2 separate regions of the Homo sapiens genome follow, and region 1 is linked to region 2. The links are contacts of gene promoters, found by promoter capture Hi-C in blood cells and fetal thymus (Javierre and others, 2016). All regions are on one chromosome and are shown on one strand. Each heading gives the region's core, a stretch centred on a gene start or on the middle of the fragment in contact. The rest is flanking DNA. Distances are from core to core; before and after follow the strand shown. Region 1 holds the start of LOC105372484 (a long non-coding RNA gene). Region 2 holds the start of ATP13A1 (ATPase 13A1).

Evidence for each region. Contacts are between HindIII fragments. The CHiCAGO score rates a contact against its expected background, and 5 or more counts as called.
Region 1: a fragment that was not itself captured here is called in contact with the fragment with the promoter of ATP13A1 in region 2 in 1 of 17 cell types (monocytes); the score reaches 7.8 in monocytes.

The regions. Positions count from the first base shown.
Region 1 is chr19:58,375,672-58,379,193 of GRCh38, forward strand. The region is part of intron 1 of ZNF837 (zinc finger protein 837); the gene reads right to left. LOC105372484 (a long non-coding RNA gene) reads left to right here and starts at 1,912. Exons shown (of 2, transcript XR_936130.2): 1 at 1,912-2,438; 2 at 3,114-3,354. The HindIII fragment of the contact is 6,480 bases long and covers 1-3,522 here.
Region 2 is chr19:19,661,664-19,665,170 of GRCh38, forward strand. It overlaps ATP13A1 (ATPase 13A1), which reads right to left and starts at 2,013. Exons shown (of 26, transcript NM_020410.3): 1 at 1,608-2,013. The coding sequence starts at 2,003. RefSeq lists enhancers at 1-406, 1,180-1,229, 1,361-2,343, 1,615-1,716, 2,060-2,349 and 1 more and silencers at 1,750-2,009, 2,450-2,499. The HindIII fragment of the contact is 4,289 bases long and covers 1,162-3,507 here.

The DNA of each region.
Region 1 (3,522 bases), core at 152-2,651, about 39 Mb after region 2:
TCCTGACCTCATGATCCGCCTGCCTCGGCCTCCCAAAGTGCTGGGATTACAGGTGTGAGCCACCTCGCCCAGCTGATTTATATCTTTTTTTTTTTTTTTAAAGCAGAATGCACCCATGCCACAGTGCTCCTTCCTGCAGCCTGTCAGGCGTCGGCCCACCCTGCAACATCCAGGATGTCATTTGAGCCCTGGTCACACGAAAGCACTGCATGGGATGAAGGTGGTTTATTTATTTATTTTTATTTTATTATTTATTTATTTTTTTGACACAGAGTCTCGTTCTGTTGCCCAGGCTGGAGTGCAGTGACACAATCTCGGCTCACTGCAACCTCTGCCTCCCAGGTTCAAGCAATTCTCCTGCCTCAGCCTGGCGAGTAGCTGGGATTACAGGTGCCTGCCCCCACGCCCAGCTAATTTTTGTATTTTCAGTAGAGATGAGGTTTCACCCTGTTGGCCTGGCTGGTCTCAAACTCCTGGCCTCAAGTGATCCCCCTGCCTCAGCTTCCCAAAGGTGCTGGGATCACAGGCACAAGCCACTGCGCCCGGCCGAAGGTGGTTTCTTTTAAGCAATACATTTGTATTGAGAAAAACAAGTTCTTGGCCGGGCGCGGTGGCTCACGCCTGTAATTCCAGCACTTTGGGAGGCCGAGGCGGGCGGATCACGAGGTCAAGAGATCGAGACCATCCTGGCTAACACGGTGAAACCCCATCTCTACTAAAAAAAATACAAAAAATTAGCCGGGTGTGGTGGCAGGCGCCTGTAGTCCCAGCTACTCCGGAGGCTGAGGCAGGAGAATGGCTTGAACCCGGGAGGCAGAGCTTGCCATAAGTCAAAATCAGGCCACTACACTCCAGCCTGGGTGACAGAGCAAGACTCTGTCTCAAAAAAAAAAAAAAAAAAAAAAAAAAAAAAAAAAAAAGAAAGAAAAGAAAAAAGGAAAAAAAAAGAGAAAAACAAGTTCTTTTAAATCTCTAGGTAAAAATAAAATAATTTCTCACACACAGCCAAGTCAACTGCATACCAGAGTACCAAGCATAGTTTCCACATCAGAGGCTTAAGCTCTGGGGTAAAAGCATTTTCTTTAACCAGGTGTCTGTTAATTCACTCATATCAAAGAGAAAACTTGGCTGGGTGTAGTGGCTTATGCCTATAATCCCAGCACTTTGTGAAGCCAAGGTGGGTGGATGGCTTGAGCCCAGGAGTTAGAGACCAGCCTGGGCAGTATGGTGAAACCCTGTCTCTATTAAAAAAAAAAAAAAAAATGGCCGGACGTGGTGACTCATGCCTGTAATCCCAACACTTTGGGAGGCCAAGGTGGGTGGATCACGAGGTCAGGAGATTGAGACCAGCCTGGCTAACATGGTGAAACCCCATCTCTACTAAAAATACAAAAAATTAGCCAGGCGAGGTGGCGCGCACCTGTAATCCCAGATACTCGGGAGGCTGAGACAGGAGAATCACTGGAATCCGGGAGGCGGAGGTTGCAGTGAGCCAAGATCGTGCCACTGCACTCCAGCCTGGGCGACAGAGCGAGACTCCGTCAAAAAAAAAAAAAAAAGGCTGGGCGCAGTGGCTCACACCAGTAATCCCAGCACTTTGGGAGGTGGGCAGATCACGAGGTCAGGAGATTGAGACCATCCTGGCTAACATGGTGAAATCCCGTCTCTACTAAAAAATAGAAAAAATTAGCCAGGTGTGGTGGTGGGCGCCTGCAGGAGAATGGTGTGAACCCGGGAGGCGGAGCTTGTAGTGAGCCGAGATCTTGCCACTGCACTCCAGCCTGGGTGACAGAACGAGACTCCATCTCAAAAAAAAAACTATCCAGGTGTGGTGGTGCAAGCCTGTAGCCCCAGCTGTCAGGAAGCTAAGGTGGGATGATCGCTTGAGCCTGGGAGATTGAGGCTGCAGTGAGCTACAATTGCACCACTGCACGCCAGCCTGGGCAACACAGTGAGACCACATCTCAAAAAAAGAAAGCAAAGAAAACTCTTCATTAGAAACTGAACATGCTCGCTGGGAATGATATTCAGGGCACAGGGCAATTCCTTACAGGGGCACACACCCAAGGGCACTGCTGCCACCACATGGGAAGTTGTGACGGGAGGGAGGAGACTGAGGGCAGGACACAAGACATGGAGACACACATTCTGGTCTGTCTGACCATGGAGCTCTGTCCACACCCAGGCTGCCTGCTGGCTCCCAACCACCACACACAGTATCTGGCGTTTCTCACAGGTGTCGGCTTCTCTCTCTCGAGTCCATCTGCTGGCCGTGGACCTGGCTATTCGGGGCAGGCCCATCCTGCCCACCTCCCCACACTCTCTCAAGCCTCTGTCTCTGAGCACTGCAGGTTTTGTAGTGTTCCCTCGTCTACCTCTGAGAGGCCAGGCTGACTGAAGAGCTCCTGAGAAAGCCACCAGGACCCACTGCTAAAGGGGTTGGTCCAGGGTCATTGCCAGGCTGGGATCTGAGGTCCCCACACATAGGGCAGGGAACTCCCCAGCCATAGACTCTGATGGGGGTACCAGTGTGGACTCCAGCCCTTTACACGGAGGAGGGAGCATGCCACTATGGATGCTGAGCAGCAGGAGGTCAGGGGCCCCGCTTTCACAATGTGCCATCCCAGAAGCCCCACAGCCAGGATCTGGACCTCTCTGACACAACTCCAGGTCACAGAGACCCAGATGTCAGGGATGGAGGGACTTGGGCACCTGCCTTGCTATTAGCTCCAAGGCTGCTGGCTTCATGTCACAGTCTGTACAACAGCTGGTGGCATGAGCAGGGCTAGGACCAGCACTCAGCATGACTTCCTAGAACTCTAGGGACTTAGGGGCTGAGGACTTCCCAGGGTGAAAGACCATACCTGGGACAGCCTGGCCAAACAGGGACAATTGATCACCATGGAATCAGTGGACAGGCCCAAGAATGGATGGGCACATGAGGTCACCCAGGATCAGGCAGGTTCCACTGAAGGAGGCTGCAAAAGATATATCCAATGTCCTAACCCCGGAACTCTCAGAATGTGACCTTATTAGGTCTTTGCAGACATAATTAAGGATCTTGTGATGAGATCACCCTGAATAACCTGGGTGTGCCCTAATTCCAATGACAGGTGTCCTTATGAAGGAGGCAAAGGGAGTTCTGACACGGAGAAGAGTGGTCCATGTGAAGATGGAGGCTGATATTGGAGTGATGCAGCCACACTCCAAGGAACACCCGGAGCCGCCAGAAGCCGGAAGAGGCAAGGAAAGACCCCCACCCAGAGCCGTCAGAGAGCACAGTACTGCTGACACCTTGATTTCAGACTTCTGGCTTCCAGGACTGTGAGAGTAAATTTCTGTTGTTTTAAACTGCCCAGTTTGTGGTAGTGTGTTATAGCAGCCACAGAAACTAATAGAGACTGGTCTAGCACCCTCGACAGAATGTGTGTGTTGTAAGGGGCTCTCCTGATCCCTAGTGATGGGGAGTCAGAGGACTGCTTAGTGTCTGAACAGAGGGTTGGGGAAGCTGGGTTGTCCTGA
Region 2 (3,507 bases), core at 763-3,262:
CAGAAATGTTGAATGGAACTCGTTCAGTGCTCCCTGGACCCCGTGAACCGCCATCCATTCCTCTGCTGCTCTGCTAGACCGAGCTGCATGGAGACGAGCTGCATGGAGATGGGGGGAGCACAATGATGACCCGCAGAAACAAAGCGCCACCGCACGGGTGGTTCATGGGCCTCCAAAGCAGGCAGCAAATAACAACAATCACATAACTACAAACGTGACGTCACGGAAGAAAGGTACAAGAGGCTATACGCTGTGATGGCCCCAGGGCGGGCACTCTGCAGATATCATCTCCGCTTCTCAAGATGGCACCCAGTAGTTGTTAGTTACGGTTCTCAGTTTACAGAAGGGGGAAACTGAAACTCAGAGAGCAGAAGCGGCCCTTTCTGAGATCTGAATCAAACCCAGATCCACCTCTCCTGGCTGATGGCTGTTCAGCTCCTCCCACTTCTCCATCCCTGGAGAGGAAGTTAAGAGCTAAGCTGCTTAGCTGCAGGTCAAAAGGCAGCTGAAGTTTGAGCGGTGCCACAGTCCCCTTAACCCCTCCTTTATTTTGTCCCTCATTGGTGTCTTTCATTGTACTACCTCAAAGCTACCACGTTGAGCTCCTCCCCTGGGATAGATAAGTCTTTTTGAAGGACAGAACAGGTTGTCTCTCAGGAGAGGAGAATGAGGATTCTACCCACATTCAGAGCCAGCCAGGGTGGGGGGCTTCTGTCTTTCTGTAGCCCTTGATGCTGTTCCCTTTTCCTCTTCTTGAGGCAAACACACTCCTGGAATCAGAGGGGAAGCTTCCTGATATACCTCAGTGTCCATGGCTCCAAACCTGCTGGTGTCACCTGAGGCAGGCCCAGAGAGAGACGACACAGTCACTGCTTCAGGCCCAGGGAAGCTCACAGTCACCAACTCCTCCGACGACACTTGGTCACTCAGAACTCTAAACTGTGGGTCAGGAGCGCGACCTTGCTTGCTGTTGTATCCCCGACAGAACTCAGTATCACCACCCTCATTTTGCGGAAAGACATCATGTAAATGACTCGCTCATAAACACCTCTGCCTCTCTTCAACACTGTAATTAACTGCATTTCATGCTCCTTTCCATCACAGTATGGAAGACCACTAAGCACTGGACAGCAAGACTTGGTTCAGTCTAAGAACCAACTAAGCTTCATAGATGGGGGAAACCTATCCCAGTGATCTCGCCTTACACTTTGAAAACCAAGGTAGGAGACAGATGAGATGGAAGGTAGGGCCGTTTCCAGAACAAGAGTAGTCGCTAATATGGGAACTAGTATAAACAACTCCTACCTGACCTGGGCGACGTATGCTGGGCCCTGCGCTAAGCCTTTTACAAGTATTACATCACTGAATCTAAATGACCATAACAGGGAGGACTTCAGAAAAAGGAAATAACCCGCACCAGGCATGCACAGCAAGTCAGCAGTGGGGTCATGATTAAGCCTGCGCCAAAGTGTAGAGGGTGCCCCTGGGAATCCAGGCCAGGCAGATGAGTGGCCCAGGTCGCGATGGTGACCGACAGGAAGGCCGCAGCTGGGACCCACGGCGAGGCTCGACCGTGCTGGGGGTCGGGCTCGCGTGTACACACTTACCGGGGTGCAGGTGAGCGCGCAATGCGCGTGCACAGACCAATGCCCCGAGAGGACAGTGAGCGCGTGCGCGAGGCAGATGGTGGCAAGCACGAGCAGCGCAGCTTCGGGGATCTGCACCCAACTGCTGCCCCAGCCCCAGCAGCCAGCGGCTGCGGCACCCAACCAGGCCGGGTAAAGCAGCCCGGCGAATGGCAGCACCGTGAGGCGCCGCAACAGCGCCAACCGCCGGTACGGCCACACGGCAGCCACCAGCTCGTCACCGTTCGCTATGAGCGCCGGCCCGGCGGCAAGGAGCGCGCGCGGCTGCGGCCCGGGCTTGGGCTGCCCGTCAGGCCGGACCCCGCAAGGCCGGGCCCCGCAGGGCACCGCGTTGCCCACCGCCGCCGCTGCCGCCATCTTTCCTAGCGCCGCGCTCACTTCCGGGCAGAGGAACGCCTCACTTCCGAAGTTTTACTTCCGGTAAGCCCTGAGCGCCGCCATGGCAGCCTGGACTAGGAAGAGCCAGGGCAACAGAACAGGCTGGCCCCGGCAGGGACTACTTCGGGTGCCGCCATGACAGGCTGTGGCCGGAAGAAGAGGCTGGGCGTCGCCATGACAGAGAGGGACTGGAAGACCTAACGGTGCCTGCCTCCGCTGCCACGCCGGACTGAGACCGGAAAAGACAAGGCCGGCAAGGCGGGCTTGGGCGCCACCATGACAACCTGAACCAAAAAAAGCGAGCCCTCCTCCTTGACTACACCAGCACCACCTGTCACCAGGGGCGAAGCCTGGACCCTGCGGAGGCGGGGTCGGGAGCTTCGGAGTTCAGGAGGCGGGGCCCGGTGCGGGGGGCGGGGCTTGTGAGGGGCGGGGTCGGGGACCGCCCCGGAACACAACCACACCGGACAAGAGCCTTAATGTGATAGATAAGAATTACAAATACTAGCCGGGCGCGGTGGCTCACGCCTGTAATCCCAACACTTTGGGAGGCGAGGCGGGTGGATCACCTGAGATCAGGAGTTCAAGACCCAACATGGTGAAACCACGTCTCTACTAAAAATACAAAAATTAGCCGGGCGTGGTGGCACATGCCTGTAATCCCAGCTACTCGGGAGGATGAGGCAGGAGAATTGCTTGAGCCCGGGAGACGGAGGTTGCAGTGAGCCAAGATTGCTCCACTGCACTTCAGCCTGGCCAACAGAGCAAGACTGTCTCAAAAAAAAAAAAAAGAAAAATGAATTACAAAAACCACTTTAGGCCGGGCGCGGTGGCTCACGCCTGTAATCCCAGCACTTTGGGAGGCCGAGGTCAGGAGATCGAGACCATCCTGGCTAACGCGGTGAAACCCCGTCTCCACTAAAAATACAAAAAAAAAAAAAAAATTCTCCGGGCGTGGTGGCGGGCGCCTGTAGTCCCAGCTACTCCGGAGCCTGAGGCAGAATGGCGCGAACTGGAGAGGCAGAGCTTGCAGTGAGCGGAGATTGTGCCACTGCCCTCCAGCCTGGGCGACAGAGCGAGACTCTGTCTCCAAAAAAAAAAAAAAAAAAAAAAAGAAATTACCACTTTAACATAAAAAATGAAAAACTGGTGTTTACTTGAAATTATATACTTCTAGGCCGGGCGCGGTGGCTCACCCCTGTAATTCCAGCACTTTGGGAGGCCGAGGCGGGCGGATCACGAGTTCAGGAGATCGAGACCGTCCTGGCTAACACAGTGAAACCCCGTCTCTACTAAAAATACAAAAAATTAGCCGGGCGTGGTTGCAGGCGCCTGTAGTCCCAGCTACTCGGGAGGCTGAGGCAGGAGAATGGCCTGAACCTGGGAGGCGGAGCTTGCAGTGAGCCGAGATCGCGCCACTGCACTCCAGCCTGGGCGACAGAGCGAGACTCTGTCTGAAAAAAAAAAAAAAAAGAAATTATAT